4 separate regions of the Homo sapiens genome follow, and regions 1, 2 and 3 are each linked to region 4. Evidence: promoter capture Hi-C in 16 types of primary human blood cells and fetal thymus (Javierre and others, 2016). All regions are on one chromosome and are shown on one strand. The core of a region is centred on a gene start or on the middle of the fragment in contact, and the rest is flanking DNA. Distances in the headings are between cores, read along the strand shown. Region 1 holds the start of BTBD6 (BTB domain containing 6). Region 2 has its middle 26 kb from the start of FAM30A. Region 3 has its middle 91 kb from the start of FAM30A. Region 4 holds the start of TMEM121 (transmembrane protein 121).

Region 1 (3,324 bases), core at 720-3,219, 280 kb after region 4:
GAAGGTGTCTTGTTCAACCTGGACCGGGTGTTCAAACCAGACCGGGAAGGTGTTACTGGATCCGTCTGACATGAACTTGGTCAAGTTCTGAGCCAGAACCACCCCGAGCCGCTTGAGCTCAATCTTCACGCTGTACTCAGCCTTCCCAGAGCTGGAGCCATACAGGCCCAGCCCTGCAATAAATACCCTTCTGTCCACTGCAAACTGGATGCTGTCGCAGCGCCCGCGGTACCGCCACTGGTTGCTGCGGTAGGCAGAAGACTGGAATCGGTGGCACCTCTGCGGGGCGAGGCCCTTCCTCTTGGTCAGGGGAAAGTCCAGGCGGGGCTTGTTGGTGGCCGTGTACCACAGGAAGATGCTGTGGGTCTCCTCCAGAGTCAGGATGTCTGACTGGGCAGCGCCGTTGGCAAACTCCTCTAGGGTCATGGTTGGAATTCGGACCAGATAGAGGGCTCGCCCCAGAACATGCCTCTTGTTTCGTGGGGTGATTGGCAGCCCCTGCCTCTTGCACTCCGCCTCGGCCCAGTTCAGGACGGCCTCGAAGACCACCGCCTCTTTGGTGTTGAGGGCCTCCCGAGTGACAATGATCTCCAGCGTCTGCCGGTCTATCTCACAGAAGCCTTCGGACCGTAGGGCCATCTCGGCCTGTGCGTCAATGACCTCCCAGCAGCGCTGCGTCAGCTCGGGCTCCTCAAACAGCCGGCTCTGGGACAGCAGGACGCAGGCGTTCTTGGCTTCCAAACTTGTCTCCAGAAAGTTGACACAGGCTTTTGCCAATGCTGGGACGATGTACTTCTTAGCAGCGTACAGAGTGGCCAGCACCGTGTCGGCTTCCAGATCGATCTCATCACTGTACATGTACCTAGGCGAGGCAGGGCCCGCGTCAGGGGCTGGCTCCCAAGCACCCATCGCGGGGCTGGGCCTGGGAGAGGAGTCCATCAGCTCCTGTGTGCTTCCCTTCAGAAGCCTCCGGAGGCCGCCTAAAACGGACCCACCCGTCCCTCCCCAGTAGAGTGGACTTACTTTAAGAGGATCAGAAAGGCTGCGGGCTCCACGTCTGGAATGTGAATTTCAGATTTGACTTCCGCCAGGTCTCCGTAGAACATGGCATAGAAGACGGAGCTGCCGACAGCCAAGACGTACTGGGAGGAGAAAGCGCCGCCGTGAGCCTGGCTCTCCCGCAGGCTGCGTGTCAGCCACACGGCGGACGGGGCGGACGGGGCACGCGTTCCGAGAGGGGCCGCCGCTACCCACCTTGTGGGCGGGCACCGTCCTGGTCGCCCCCGGGGGCCCCACGACGAAGTGCACGTCGGCCATGAGCTCGTTGTTGAACATGAGCGCGTTCCTGCAAAGGTAGAGGCACGGGCTGGGGGCGTGGGCGCGCGCGGGCGCGGGGGCCGCGGGGCACGGGCTCACCTCTCGCGCAGCGTGGGGCGGCAGCACCGCCAGCCGGGGCTCTCCTGGTGGTTGTTGCCGAGTGTGGGCGGCGCGGGCGCGGGCGGCGGCGGCGCTGGCGCGGGGGCGCTGGGCGGGCTGCGCGGCCCGGCCTTCCTGCCCACGGCGGCGCCGGCGTTGCTGTTGGCTAGGTCCGCGGCCGCGGCGCTGGCGGGAGCGTAGAGTTCCGCCGCCATCTTCGCGGGCGGGGCGGCGGGGGCAGCCTCGGCGCCTGTGGACGCCGCGCCCCGCGCCCTCGCGCCGCGCCGGGGCCTCGGGAGCGGCTCTGCAAGCAAAAGCAAGGAGGTCAGGCACTGAGCGACGCGGCCGTGCAGGCAGGCTAGGGGCAGCAGCATGGGCGGCGGCGGCGCTGTGACCCGCGGGGCTGCCACCCGCTCCCCTGCCACCCCCGCCCCTGCGACCCTGCCCGAGCCCAGCCTAGCGCAGCCCGGCCAGGCCCGGCCGCGGGGGGCGCCGTCCCGCCCGCCCGCCCGCCCGAGCCCGTACCCGCCGCGGCGCCGGTGCGTCACGCTGCGTCAGGGCCGCGCCCCGCGCGACGTCGCTGCCTCGCGGCCCCGCCCCCAGGCCCGACATCCTCGAAGCTGCTCGAGCTTCTGCCCAGCAACCGGCGCGAGCCGCGCGCTGTGCAGAGGTAGCCGTGGAAGGCGGCTCCCGGCGCTGGCAGGCGGCCGCCCCCAGACCCGCAGTGCCATGCGCAGGTGCTTGCGCCCGTTCTTCAGTTAGCGATCTTTTGGTTAGGAACGCAGGTGGACCTGCTTGTTTGGCCATTTGCATTCCGGAGTCTGCCTCTGGCCGCGGCCTGTGGGATGGTCGTTGGGCTTCCTCGTTCGTTCAGATGCTTCGCGATTTAGCTTGCTACGGACGCCAGCAGCCAGCGCTTGCAGAGAGCGCGGTCCACTCTGCTCTGAGGGCTTTACAGGGGCAGGCGCTGCTATTTCCCGGCATTTTCCTCGAGGAAATAGGCACAGAGAGGTTAGTCGCGCGCTGAAGGTCACACAGCCGGCGGGTGGGCAAGTCAGGATCTGGCCCTGGGCCTGCAGCCCTGGAGCTTGGGCCCCAGGGCGCGCCCTGCCTCTGTGGCTCTGCCTGTGGATCGCAGTCGCAGGCTCGCTCCTTGTGGGGCCTCTAGCCTCCCGGCCTGGGGCTAATCCTGGGAGGTGCGTGGCATGGGGCACTGGCTTTGCTGATGAGGAGACCAGACTTCAGAGGCCGTGTCACCTGGCCTGGGCCGCACAGCTGGTGCATGCCAAGCTCGCGTGCAGACGAAGCTCCAGAGGCCTGGCTGTCAGGAGGGTTCCTCCCCGAGGACACACACGCAACCTCCTGGACCGCCAGGCTTTAGACTTTTAAAACTTCCATATGCAGGAAACCCCACAGGACGCAGCCAGCATCTCGGGTCATGGGTGCACCTGTCACCGCAGTCCTGGGCTAAACAGTGAACAGGAGCTCTGTGTCTCTGTGGTCGTTACAGTTGTAGTGAATGTTCCCTGGGAGAGTCCTCTTCAGAAGATATTTGCGGTATTTTCAACAAAGGACTCTCCAGGATGGAGGAGCAACTACAAGTCAGGAAGGAAAAGGCTGACAACCCAGTTTTTTAAAAAACGGGCAAAGGACGTGAACAGACACCATGCAATGGCCCAGAGTGCACAAATCATCATTTCTCCCAGGAATGGGGTGCCCGAGCCCCCAGGCGGCTGAACTTGAGACTTGTCACGTAGTGTTGGTGGAATGCAGAGCAGCTGGAGATCACCTGCTGCAGGTGGGTGCGTAACTCCGCACGGCCAAGCCGTTTGGAAAGCTGTAGCATATGCATGAGAGTCCGGAAAGTTCCGAGAGAAAGTGTGTGGATGCACCCGCCAAGGACACACC
Region 2 (3,580 bases), core at 945-3,444, 420 kb before region 4:
GTGCCCAGTCTGATTGCACTGTGGCAGGGATAACGAGGGGCCAGGACATCAGGGGAGAGAAGTTTCTACCTGAGTCACAGCAGCGGCTGCCCTGCAGACTCCTGAAGACACAAGACACATTTCCATCCCAGAGACCCAGCGAAATGCAACCTCAAACTAGAGACAGCCAGTTATTTTTTCTTGTTCTGTCCTGGAGAGGCCACTGAGAAAGTCGAGCCCCTTGTTGAGGAAAACATGAGATCTCTGTGTGTCGTCCTCTGCCTGATGGCTGTACCTCCATGTGAGTGTCTCAGAGATTTCAGAACGGGGGCTGTGGGCTGTGGTGTCCGCTTGTGACTCATCTCTTTGCTTCTTGTCCCTGAGTGTCCTGCATCAGATGCAGCTACTGGAGTCATGCCCAGGGCTGGTGAGGTCCTCACAGACCTCTGGGCCTGGACCCAGCAGCCCTCTGGGAAGGCGCTGGGGCACCTCAGCTCCAGGGGCAGCACACACTTCAGCCCAGCCTTTCTGGGCCAACTCTCCATCTGTAGAGACACATCCAAGGCCCAGTTATCCCTGCAGCTGAGCTCCGTGATGGCCAAGGGCAGGGCCGCACATTCCCGTGGGAGACAGAATGGGGACCTCAGCGTGAGCCCAGACACAAACCTCCCTGCAGGGAAGCACAAGACCACCAGGCGGCGCTCCAGACCACACAGCGGCCCCAGAAGCAGGTTTTAGGGGGCGGGGCAGACGTGTCCGCGTTGAGTCAGGTCATTGGTTTTACTTTCCCTGAGCAAACGGCCTCTGCCAAGGACTCACTGCACCTCTCACCTTCACAGTTGTTTTTTTTTTTTTTTTTTAATCACCCTGTAGAGTTTTGCTAGCTAATTTAGATATTGAGGAGTGCTTCATACTTCCTTGGGCCTCTGCTTGCAGAAACATAGCAATTGTAAGGAGGCACGTGGGAAAGCCCCGGCTCGGTGACCCGGGGGATGCTGCTGTGGCCCTGGCAAGAGGGCGTCGGGCCGCAGTAACAAAGGTGCAGACGGCTCTCAGCCTGCGCCCGCGGAGTACAACACATAAGGGCTGTAACCTAACGAAAAAAGAATCGCAGTGCAACTGTCCTGCATTTGAGTTTGTGATCAGTTTTGCCCTTTGTCTTTAACAGGTTCTAACATAAAATTTTGAATGTTGGTTCAAGCCCTGTGGGTAAAATGCACTTACCCACATTCCTTAAACAAATAGAACACTGAGGTGGAAATGTTTTGAAAAAGTAGTTTTCAGACATTTGGAAACAAGCATCACAGGATCATAACCCCTGAGAAAAGAAAAACAAATGAACGAATCCTGCTATTGCCTGAAAGCAGCTGCCAGGACACACGGAAAGGCTTAGTGAGCTGAGCGGACAGAGAGCAGAGTTCAAGGCAGCAGCAGCCCGAGGGGAGGAGCACCGGGGAGCAGGCTGCTGTGCAGCCAGGATGGGCCGGGGTGGGGCGGGGGGAGAACAGCTGGAGACTTGCCGCAGGGAGGGGGATCCCTCAGGTTTGGGGCTGAGAACTGACTTATGCCTGACTTATGCCTGCATGAAAAGAAACTACTCGATATCAGGGGGAAATCACCAGAAACCTGTGGACCCAAAACTACACAGAGCCTACACAAGGAAAGCATTGTTTGTGTTCTCCCAGCCAGGGTGGAAAGACCTTGAGATATGTAAAGCTTCAAGCAATCTTCCGAAGTAATCTCGTGAGTAGTGGTGCCACATTAATTCAGGACTAAAGGCTGCTCTGAACTGAACCTAAGAAATGCTTCAAGTGTAGCCTGGAGCCCGGGTGCAGTGGCTCACACCTGTAATCCCAGCACTGTGGGAGGCCGAGGCAGGCGGATCACTTGAGGTCAGGACTTTGAGACCAGCCTGGCCAACATGGCAAAACCTGTCTCTACTAAAAACACAAAAATTAGCTGGGCGTGGTGGCAGATGCCTGTAATCACCTCCCACCTGGACCCTTCCTTGATACATCAGAATTACAACTAGAGATGAGATTGGGGTGGGGACACAGAGCCAAACCGTATCACATAGGAACCTAAAAGGATAATAAAGTAGGAAAACTTCCCACATCAGTAACCCTTTATCCGATAGTAATCCCAATCTGCAAAGTAAAACTGTGTGATTTTACTAAGATAACGGAATCTTCTCTACAGGACTTTCCAGTGCAAAAGCTCCCCACCCTCACCATGAAATGCACGTGACCATTTCCAATTTGTGTAAAGTCCTCAGTTAGTACTGAGACTTCGGAAGGTTAGAAATCCCTTTGCTCATGCTGCATGGTCCGGATGAGATGTAAGAATCATTAGCTAATAGACATGCAACAGCTTTTGTGTGAAAGATGTTATGAGACATTTAAGGTATTTGCTTGTGATTACTAAGCATTCATTGTATCATTGGAGCACATGTGCTTTTATACCCTGGAGAAATTCCAGTAATTGAATTGCTGGGTTGAATGGGATTTTGATTTGGATTAAATTTAAACTATAGATTTTATTTAGGGAAAACTGGCATCTTAATTATGTTATTGGGGGGCCCTTGCTCCCAGAGCTCCCAAGATGGTGGCAGGCCGCTTCCAAAATGACCGCAGGCCACTTCCAAGATGGTGGCAAGCCTCATGTTCTCTGACCTGGGGTTCTTGGCCTCACGGATTCCAAGGAATGGAAGCTTGGGCCATGCAGTGAGTGTTATAGCTCTATTAGAAGCCGTGGGTCACGGAAGAGAACCGTGGAACCCAGTGACTAGTGTTCAGCTCGATTAGGACGAACCCAGGCACTTAGCCGTGCAGGAACAATGGCGAGCATTTGGTCCGATCGAGAGTGGCAATGGGCGCCTCGCTGGATCAGGAGCACAGCGGATACCCTGATGGATCCGGAGGGATGGAAGCCAGCGGTGGGTCTCCCACGGGGGCAAACAGCAGTGGTGGACGGTGAGCGAAAGCGAAGCTCGAGCCGTAACAAACATGGACCAGAAGAGTGCAGTTGCAAGATTTAGTAGAGTGAAGACAGAGCTCCCATACAAAGGGAGGGGACCCAAAGAGGGTAGCTGTTACCGGCTCGAATGCCTGGGTTTATATCCCGATCATTGTCCCTCCCGCTGTGCTCTCAGGTGATAGATGATTGGCTATTTCTTTACCTCCTGCTTTTGCCTAATTAGCATTTTAGTGAGCTCTCTTTACTATCTGATTGGTCGGGTGTGAGCTGAGTTGCAAGCCCCGTGTTTAAAGGTGGAAGTGGTCACCTTCCCAGCTGGGCTTAGGGATTCTTAGTCGGCCTAGGAAATCCAGCTAGTCCTGTCTCTCAATTACACTGAGTTTTCCAATCCATGCATCCAATATGTGGTGTATCTCTTCATATGTTCATAGCCTCTGAGCAATGTTTTACAATTTTCTGTGTAAAGAACTCCACATCGTTTTATGTTTCTTCTAAGGTATATCCTGATTGCTTTTTATGTCTTCACAAGTTTTTTCCTTTCAAAATTAATTTTCCAATTGTTTGGTGCTAATATGCTCAAATGTCCTTGATTTTCTTAGTTTGAACAGTCCGTTTTTGTTTTGGG
Region 3 (3,480 bases), core at 828-3,327, 480 kb before region 4:
TAGCAGGCTTCTCTGAGATCAGCCCTGGGGGGCTGTGTTCTAGGTCATGTCTCTCACTTTCCACTATGAGAATCCATGTAGATCATGAGAACCAGCCAGATGGAGTCCTGATCCCGGCCCACCTTCTGCTGCTCCCCAAGTATCCCAAAGAAAACCACTCCAGCGTCACCCCTGTGTCTTCTACTCTCTAAAATCCCACTAAAGCTGACCTTAAACCAGGAGATATTTGGGGCCGGGCTCTTGTTCTCTTCTTCTTAGTCTTCCATAAGGTCCAGGTGCCGAGTAAAGCCTCAGTAAAGATTGAGCTTCAGTTCCCCTAACCCACATCATTCCCTTACATCCTTGTCATGCATCTGTCCTCTGTGGGCACTCAGGGCAGGTTACACAGGAATTGCCTGAAGCTGGCCTCAACTGATGTGCTGAGACCACGGGTCATGCACATGTATGATTCCAGGTCATGCAGGCTCTACTGCAGGACAGACCTGTGTCCTGTGGGGCACAGACACCTGCTGACCCCGGGTCTCCTCTAATAACTCACACACCTGGTGTTTGTGTGTGTCCAGATGGCCCCATGAGCACAGCACACTAGGGTGGCCAACCTCACAGGTGGGGCCGTCAGATGGAATGGACAGGCTGGTCACCCCCATCATCAGTGATTTCCCAGTGAATTTTAAATAAATTAAACAAAATTAACAACAAAGGGGAAGGATGTGTACCTGTCTCTGGGAGGTATACAGGGTCCCAGAACTGTGCTGGGAGTGGGTGTGAAATGCCCTTTTGTGTAGAAAGCCCTCCAGCATGAGTGAAAGCTGAAGGAATGATCACTGTGCAGGTGGAGGATGATAGGCAGCTGGCAGGGTACATTTCCTGAAGCTGTTCCTGGGTGCATGATGGTTGGATGGCCCATGGTGATGAGGGCTGGACTCACATAGGAACAAGGAAATTATCCCATGGGAATGGCAGAAAAGAAAACGGAGATGGACACCCCTGGAGACAGCTTATTAGATTTGGTGGAGGAAAAATAGAAATTTATTCCAATGACCCCAGCATTTTCAGCTAAATATGAGTTGCATTAATAGACAGAATTATGAAAGGAAGGGAGAAGGAGTTTATGGAGGGAAAAAAACAGAAGATAAATTAAAATTAAAAACTATGCAAATCTATCAATTGGCAGATAACAGAGTGGAGCTGATGCAGCTACTTCCTTGTTCTGGAAACCTGCCAGAGACACTTAGCATTCCTGTAAGGCCGGTCTAGTGGTGATGAACTTGTCCACTTTTTACTTTTTTGGGAAACTTCTCAAACCTCCTGCATTATTGAAGAAAAGCTTTAATCCATGTAACATATTTATTTGGAAGTTTCTTGGCTTTGTTTTTATTTTCAGCAACTTGAATAGAATCGTGCACATCATGATATTTCGGTGAACAACAGGCCACCTACAGGACAAAGGTCTCATTAGATTATAATACTGTATTTTCACCGCATTTTTCCATGCTTAGATATGTTCATCTGTATAAACATCTACCATGGTGATTCAGCTGCCCACAGTATTCACTACACTTACATGACATACAGATTTGTTACCTAGGAGCACTATGCTATCCCACGCAGCCTGGGTGTAGCAAGGTATTTCATGTAGGTTTGTGTAAACACACTCTATGATCCTTGCACAATGACAAATTGCCTAAGGACACATTGCTCAGATGTATTCCTACTGTTTTTCATTTTTTTTTAGATGGAGTCTCACTCTGTCACCCAGGCTGGAGTGCAGTGGCACAATCTTGGCTCACTGCAACCTCCGCCTCCCAGGCTCAAGCGATTCTCCTGCCTCAGCCTTCCGAGTAGCTGGGATTACAGGCATGAACCACCACGCCCAGCTAATTCTTTTTTTCTATTTTTTAGTAGAGATGGGATTTCACCATGTTGCCCTGGCTGGTCTTGAACTCGTGACCTACATGATCCACCCACTTTGCCCTCCCAAAGTGCTGGGATTACAAGCGTGAGCCACTGCGCCTGGCCAGTGTATCCCTACTGTTAAGCCACAAATCATCGTATCTCATCTCTCTCCCTTTTTTGTCCCTGTTAATATTTTCATGTTGTGCGTGCATTCTTCTCCTAGCTCAGTGAACATATTTATAAGGTTTACTTTGAATTTTCTGCTAGGTAATCAATGTATCTCCTTTTAATTTGTGTCAGTTTCTAGTGCTTTTTTTGTTAAATAATTTGGACCACTTTTTTCTGTTTTGTGATTATTGTTATTATTATTATTTTTTACTTTCTCTGTTGCTTTCTCCTCATTAGAAGAAAAAGCTACCGTAATCACTCTTCACAGAATATGCCCAGGGAAAATGCCATCACCTATCAACCCAGGCTGTCATTGTGGCATCTCTTAAAACTTCATAATGGTTGAAATTTTTTGTTGTTGTTGTTATTAGTGGCACTCAGACCTACAGAGGATTTTAAGTTTTGCTCCTACTCTAAATTAGGTGGCATTGAAATTCATCCTGCAGGCAGTCTCTGATAAAGTGGAGGAATTGGGCAGTTTTGTTATGCATATGGTTCATAAAAATAATATGAGTTTAAGGTTTTCTCAGCCAAGTGCTATATCCTGATATTTTATAATCACTTCTTTGAATCTCTCTTGGGTTTATCTTTTGAAAATTTAGATCAGAATATAAACCAGGTTTGAGGCTTTTTGTTTGGTGTAAACATCTCCTATAGGTCATTGCGTGAAAAGGCACAGAGTCTATCTGAGGAGGAGAACTCAGGGAAGCCTCACAACAACAGGGGAGACAAAACCGAGGTCACTAAAAAAATATGAAGCTTCTGGCTCCTGCAGCCTCCAGACATGCCCCACACCCTCTCATTGCACACAAATGAATTCCTTTCTCTTTCCTGAGTGATCTTTGCCAAGATTCCTCTCCTCCACTTTGACACTTTGGTATATCCATGTGTGTCCATTCTGGTTCAGCCAGGGACACAGAACCAGGAAGACATCATGGCTTTTCTAGAGGGAGCTGGCTTGGGGAATCAATGGTTGGAGTAGAAAGTGTCTTTGTCCATGTGTCACAGCCCTGAGGGACACGGGAAGAAGGTCAGGAAGACAGGATGACCAGACGGCTGGAGCAACCAGTATGAACAAAGCCACTTTCTTTCCTGGTGAAGAGGGGCATTTGGAAGCCTGGTGTCCCTGTAGGGGATGAACCACACTCACCTGCCCACTGTTACTTGCCAACGAGGTGACCCGCAGAGCAGCAGATCCTGAGTCACCGACAGTGGCTGCTTCCTCCTCCAAACCCTCCAAGATCTGTCCTTCCAGGAGTGTGAACCTCAGCAGATCCGCACGTTTTCAATGGGTCCACTTAGCTAGTGTCTGTCCTCAGCCCCATCCCTGGGATCCTGTCCTGGTGCTGTGTACACTGTCACAATAGTGGTGACAGTGACAGCTGGTGCCTGCACTTTCCAGGCCAAGAAGTTTGA
Region 4 (3,245 bases), core at 227-2,726:
CGCATTGCCTTGGCGAGGTGTTGTCCCCCACCCTCTGCCCCGGCAGAGCCACCCTGCTTTGCTCCTCTGCGCCAGGGCGATGCCTGTGGCTGCCCTCGAATCTCGGGAAGCCCGTCCACCAAGGCCCGTCGGGCTTCCACAGGCCCCTGCACCTCTGTCACACACCTGGCACTGGTCCTCATGGCCGTGCTGTCGGAGTCCCCGCACCTGGGCCTGTGCACACCTGGGTGACAATGGAGGCCCGCACACCCGCACCCACCCCAAAGTCACTGACAGGCTTACTCCCAGCCAGCCCCTCACCCCCTCCACAGCCCCAGGCCTGGGGCTCCGTTTACTGCCGTGTCTAGACAAAGGCATAAAATTTAATGTCCCCGTGACAGTCGGGCGCTCGGACTGCCCTGGTGACACCGCAGGCCCCACCGATCCGGGAAAGCGTTGAACTCTGCACTCCCACCCCTGCCCCCACCCAGCACCCGCCGCCCAGGATCCCCACAGCCACACACAGGACACCCCCACCCCTCGGAGCTCTGACAGGTCGCGAGGAGGGTGCCTTGAGGGTCCTCAGCCCATGCCCCTGCCTCCAAGCCTCCCCGCGCTCTGGGTCCCACCGGGACACTCACCCGGTTTTCACGTCCACTGGATCTACACGTCTGACCCAGGAAGCCCTCTCTGGGCCCATTCCAGGCCCACCTGGGCCTCCCCTAGCTGCAGCCGCAGCCTGAGAATTTCCTCCCTCTCCGCGCGTGGCGGGGCCAAATAAATAGCGGGGGAGCCACGGCGCCGCTCACCCTTTCCGGCCGTGCCTCCAGCCCCTCCGCCCCACTACGCTGTCGCTCGATCCTCAGTCACTTGGCAGATGCGGGCCGAGGGGCTCTGCGCTGGCGAAGGGACGGACTCCAGCCCCTAGCGGAGCCCCTACCCCGGCAAGCCAGAGCCCGGCCCGGCCACCTCTCCGTAGGGACCTGGCCCCAGGCCCACCTGTCCTGGGTCTCCTGGGCCCCGGCCGAGGCCCCTCCTCCCCCCACGCCCCGCGGCTCAGACCTGGCACAGACTCTGGGGCCTCCAGGCCCTTCACTGCCCGGGCCCCGCAAGGACCCTCGCCCCATAACCACCCCTCGGAGCCCCCGGGAGGAGGGGCGGGAGGGGGCTGCTGTGCTCCCGCCGCGGGCCGGTGCAGAGCTTGGGCCGCTCCCAGCAGGCTGCGTCTCTGCTTGTCCCCCCGAGGCTTCCCCACGCAGGGCCGGGTCCCCGTCACCCCGCCGGCCCCAGGCCTCACCCCTGCCGCATCGGCCCCCGCCCCACCCCACAGTCCCCACGGCCCAGAGGTGCAGGGTCGCCCAGGCCCGCCGCCCCCTCCGCGGACGCAGCCGCGCACCCAGCCAGTCCCGCCCGCGCCCGCGCCTACCCCGCCGCCCGCAGATGCTGCGCCGCTCCCGGGCCCGCCCGCCCAGCCTCTGCCGCCACTGCCGGGGCCGCGCCGGCTCCTCCCGCCGCGCCCCTCCCCCGCCCGCGCGGCACCGCCCCCGACCCAGAGGCCCCGCCCCGCGCCCCTCGGCCCGCGAGCCCCGCCGGACCTGGGGACCTGGGAGCGCGGGGGTGCCGGTGCCCCGCCCCCTCCGCAGCGCCGGTTGCCACGGCGACAGCACCGCGCGGCGGCGCGCAGGACTGGTGGCTCTGGGGAGCGGGGCGCCCTCGCGCACCCCCAGGCGCGGAGTCCCGTCTCCACCCTCCTCACCCACCGCCCAGAATCCCAGGGTCCCGCCCAGTGCCCCCCGCGCCCTGAAACTCCGCTGCCGCCCCCTAGAGCGACCCCACTCAGCCGGACAGGCGCCCACCGGCCCAGGAGCTGACAGGGATGTAGGCGCGGGGCTGGCCTGGCCGCCGGGGCCCTCCGCGCCACCCTCTGTCCTCTTTGGGGAGAAACCCAGCCTTCCCAGGTTTCTTCTCAGGGCAGAGGAAAGGAATGATGAGCGGCCCCCACCTTCTTCTCCAGCCCGTCCAGGAGGCAAGCTAGGGTTTGGGGACTTGGGCTTCATTTTGTCACTGAGGTGGCACTAAGCCCCTCCCCCCACATCCTGTCCATCCCGTGTGAGCCAGAGAAGAACCCGAGGGCACCTTCTGCCTGCCTGCCCTCCTTCCCAGAACTGCTGTGACTTCCCTCTGACATAGGAGGAGACTGAGGGTCAGAGAGGTAAAGGGACACCAGATTTGGTGGAAAGACCAGAATTTGAGGCACCACCCAACTGGTAGTGAACTTCCAGATTCTCTTCCCGTATCCCCGGGCCTGGACTCAACACGGCCTGAAAGCCAGAAGAGGACAGAGAGCTCCAGAAGTTCTCTAGTCCTGGCACAAGGGGAGGAAAGAAAAAGGTCGCCTAATGCTCCCAGGGTGCAGGAGAATGCCCGGGGGGATGTTAGGGTTTGGGAGGATGGGGTTTTTTGGTAGTGGTTGTTTTTTTACTCTTCTCCATTCTCTGATGCCCCAGCCCCTAGGTATCCCACCAAAGCCATGACCAAGGCATAGGGTTTACAAGCACCTAAAACGCTGAGGCAGAAGAGCCTTCCTTTCCAGCCCCAGGAGATGTGGTCCCCTGTCGCTGGAGAGATGGTGGGCAGGGAGAAGCAGTAGAAAGCAATCCATGGGCTGGGCGTGGTGGCTCACACCTGTAATTCCAGCACTTTGGGAGGCCGATGTGGGCGGATTACCTGAGGTCGGGAGTTCGAGACCAGCCTGGCCAACATGGTGAAACCCCCATCTCTACTAAAAATATAAAAATTAGCCGGGCGTGGTGGCACACACCTGTAATCCCAGCTACTCGGGAGGCTGAAGCAGGAGAATTGCTTGAGTCCGGGAGATGGAGGTTGCAGTGAGCCGAGATCTTGCCACTGCACTCCAGCCTGGGCAACAGAGTGAGACTCTGTCTCAAAAAAAAAAAAAAAAAAAAAGCAACCCCAGGAAGTTGTGCAAGCCATACATGATGTACAAGTCTAAACCCTCATTCACATCCCAAAGGCTGAGAACTGAACAAAAGGACAGCCCACTGCCCACGTCCCACACTGGCCACTGGGCAGTGCATACGAAGGACAGATCTGAGTCCCACTGCAAAGGCTTTGAAAACAAAACCGACATGGAAGGCAGGACCCACAGGAGCCTATTTGAACTTGTGGCCTGAAACCAACTAGGTTGATTGCATGATAAAACAAAATGCCAACATTCTCAATGGGATTTAAATAAGACCAGTCTC

What was found. The method cuts DNA at HindIII sites, captures the fragments that hold promoters and counts their contacts. A CHiCAGO score of 5 or more calls a contact.
Region 1: the fragment with the promoter of BTBD6 here is called in contact with the fragment with the promoter of TMEM121 in region 4 in 8 of 17 cell types (non-activated CD4 T cells, M0 macrophages, erythroblasts and 5 more); the score reaches 8.4 in non-activated CD4 T cells.
Region 2: a contact is called between a fragment that was not itself captured here and the fragment with the promoter of TMEM121 in region 4, in 1 of 17 cell types (erythroblasts). The highest score is 6.3, in erythroblasts.
Region 3: a fragment that was not itself captured here is called in contact with the fragment with the promoter of TMEM121 in region 4 in 7 of 17 cell types (M2 macrophages, total B cells, erythroblasts and 4 more); the score reaches 16.6 in M2 macrophages.

Annotation. Positions count from the first base shown.
Region 1 is chr14:105,247,178-105,250,501 of GRCh38, reverse strand. It overlaps BTBD6 (BTB domain containing 6), which reads right to left and starts at 1,969. Exons shown (of 4, transcript NM_001387567.1): 1 at 1,417-1,969; 2 at 1,255-1,345; 3 at 1,024-1,142; 4 at 1-862. The coding sequence starts at 1,790. The region is part of intron 5 of BRF1 (BRF1 general transcription factor IIIB subunit); the gene reads left to right. RefSeq lists enhancers at 1-761, 1,553-2,343 and silencers at 1,368-1,417, 1,618-2,177. The HindIII fragment of the contact is 26,340 bases long and covers 1-3,324 here.
Region 2 is chr14:105,942,237-105,945,816 of GRCh38, reverse strand. It overlaps IGH and the pseudogene IGHVII-1-1. Among named protein-coding and RNA genes, the nearest start is that of FAM30A, 26 kb to the right of the region's middle. The HindIII fragment of the contact is 994 bases long and covers 1,698-2,691 here.
Region 3 is chr14:106,007,515-106,010,994 of GRCh38, reverse strand. It overlaps IGH. Among named protein-coding and RNA genes, the nearest start is that of FAM30A, 91 kb to the right of the region's middle. The HindIII fragment of the contact is 1,496 bases long and covers 1,330-2,825 here.
Region 4 is chr14:105,524,814-105,528,058 of GRCh38, reverse strand. It overlaps TMEM121 (transmembrane protein 121), which reads right to left and starts at 1,476. Exons shown (of 2, transcript NM_025268.4): 1 at 1,406-1,476. The HindIII fragment of the contact is 18,865 bases long and covers 1-3,245 here.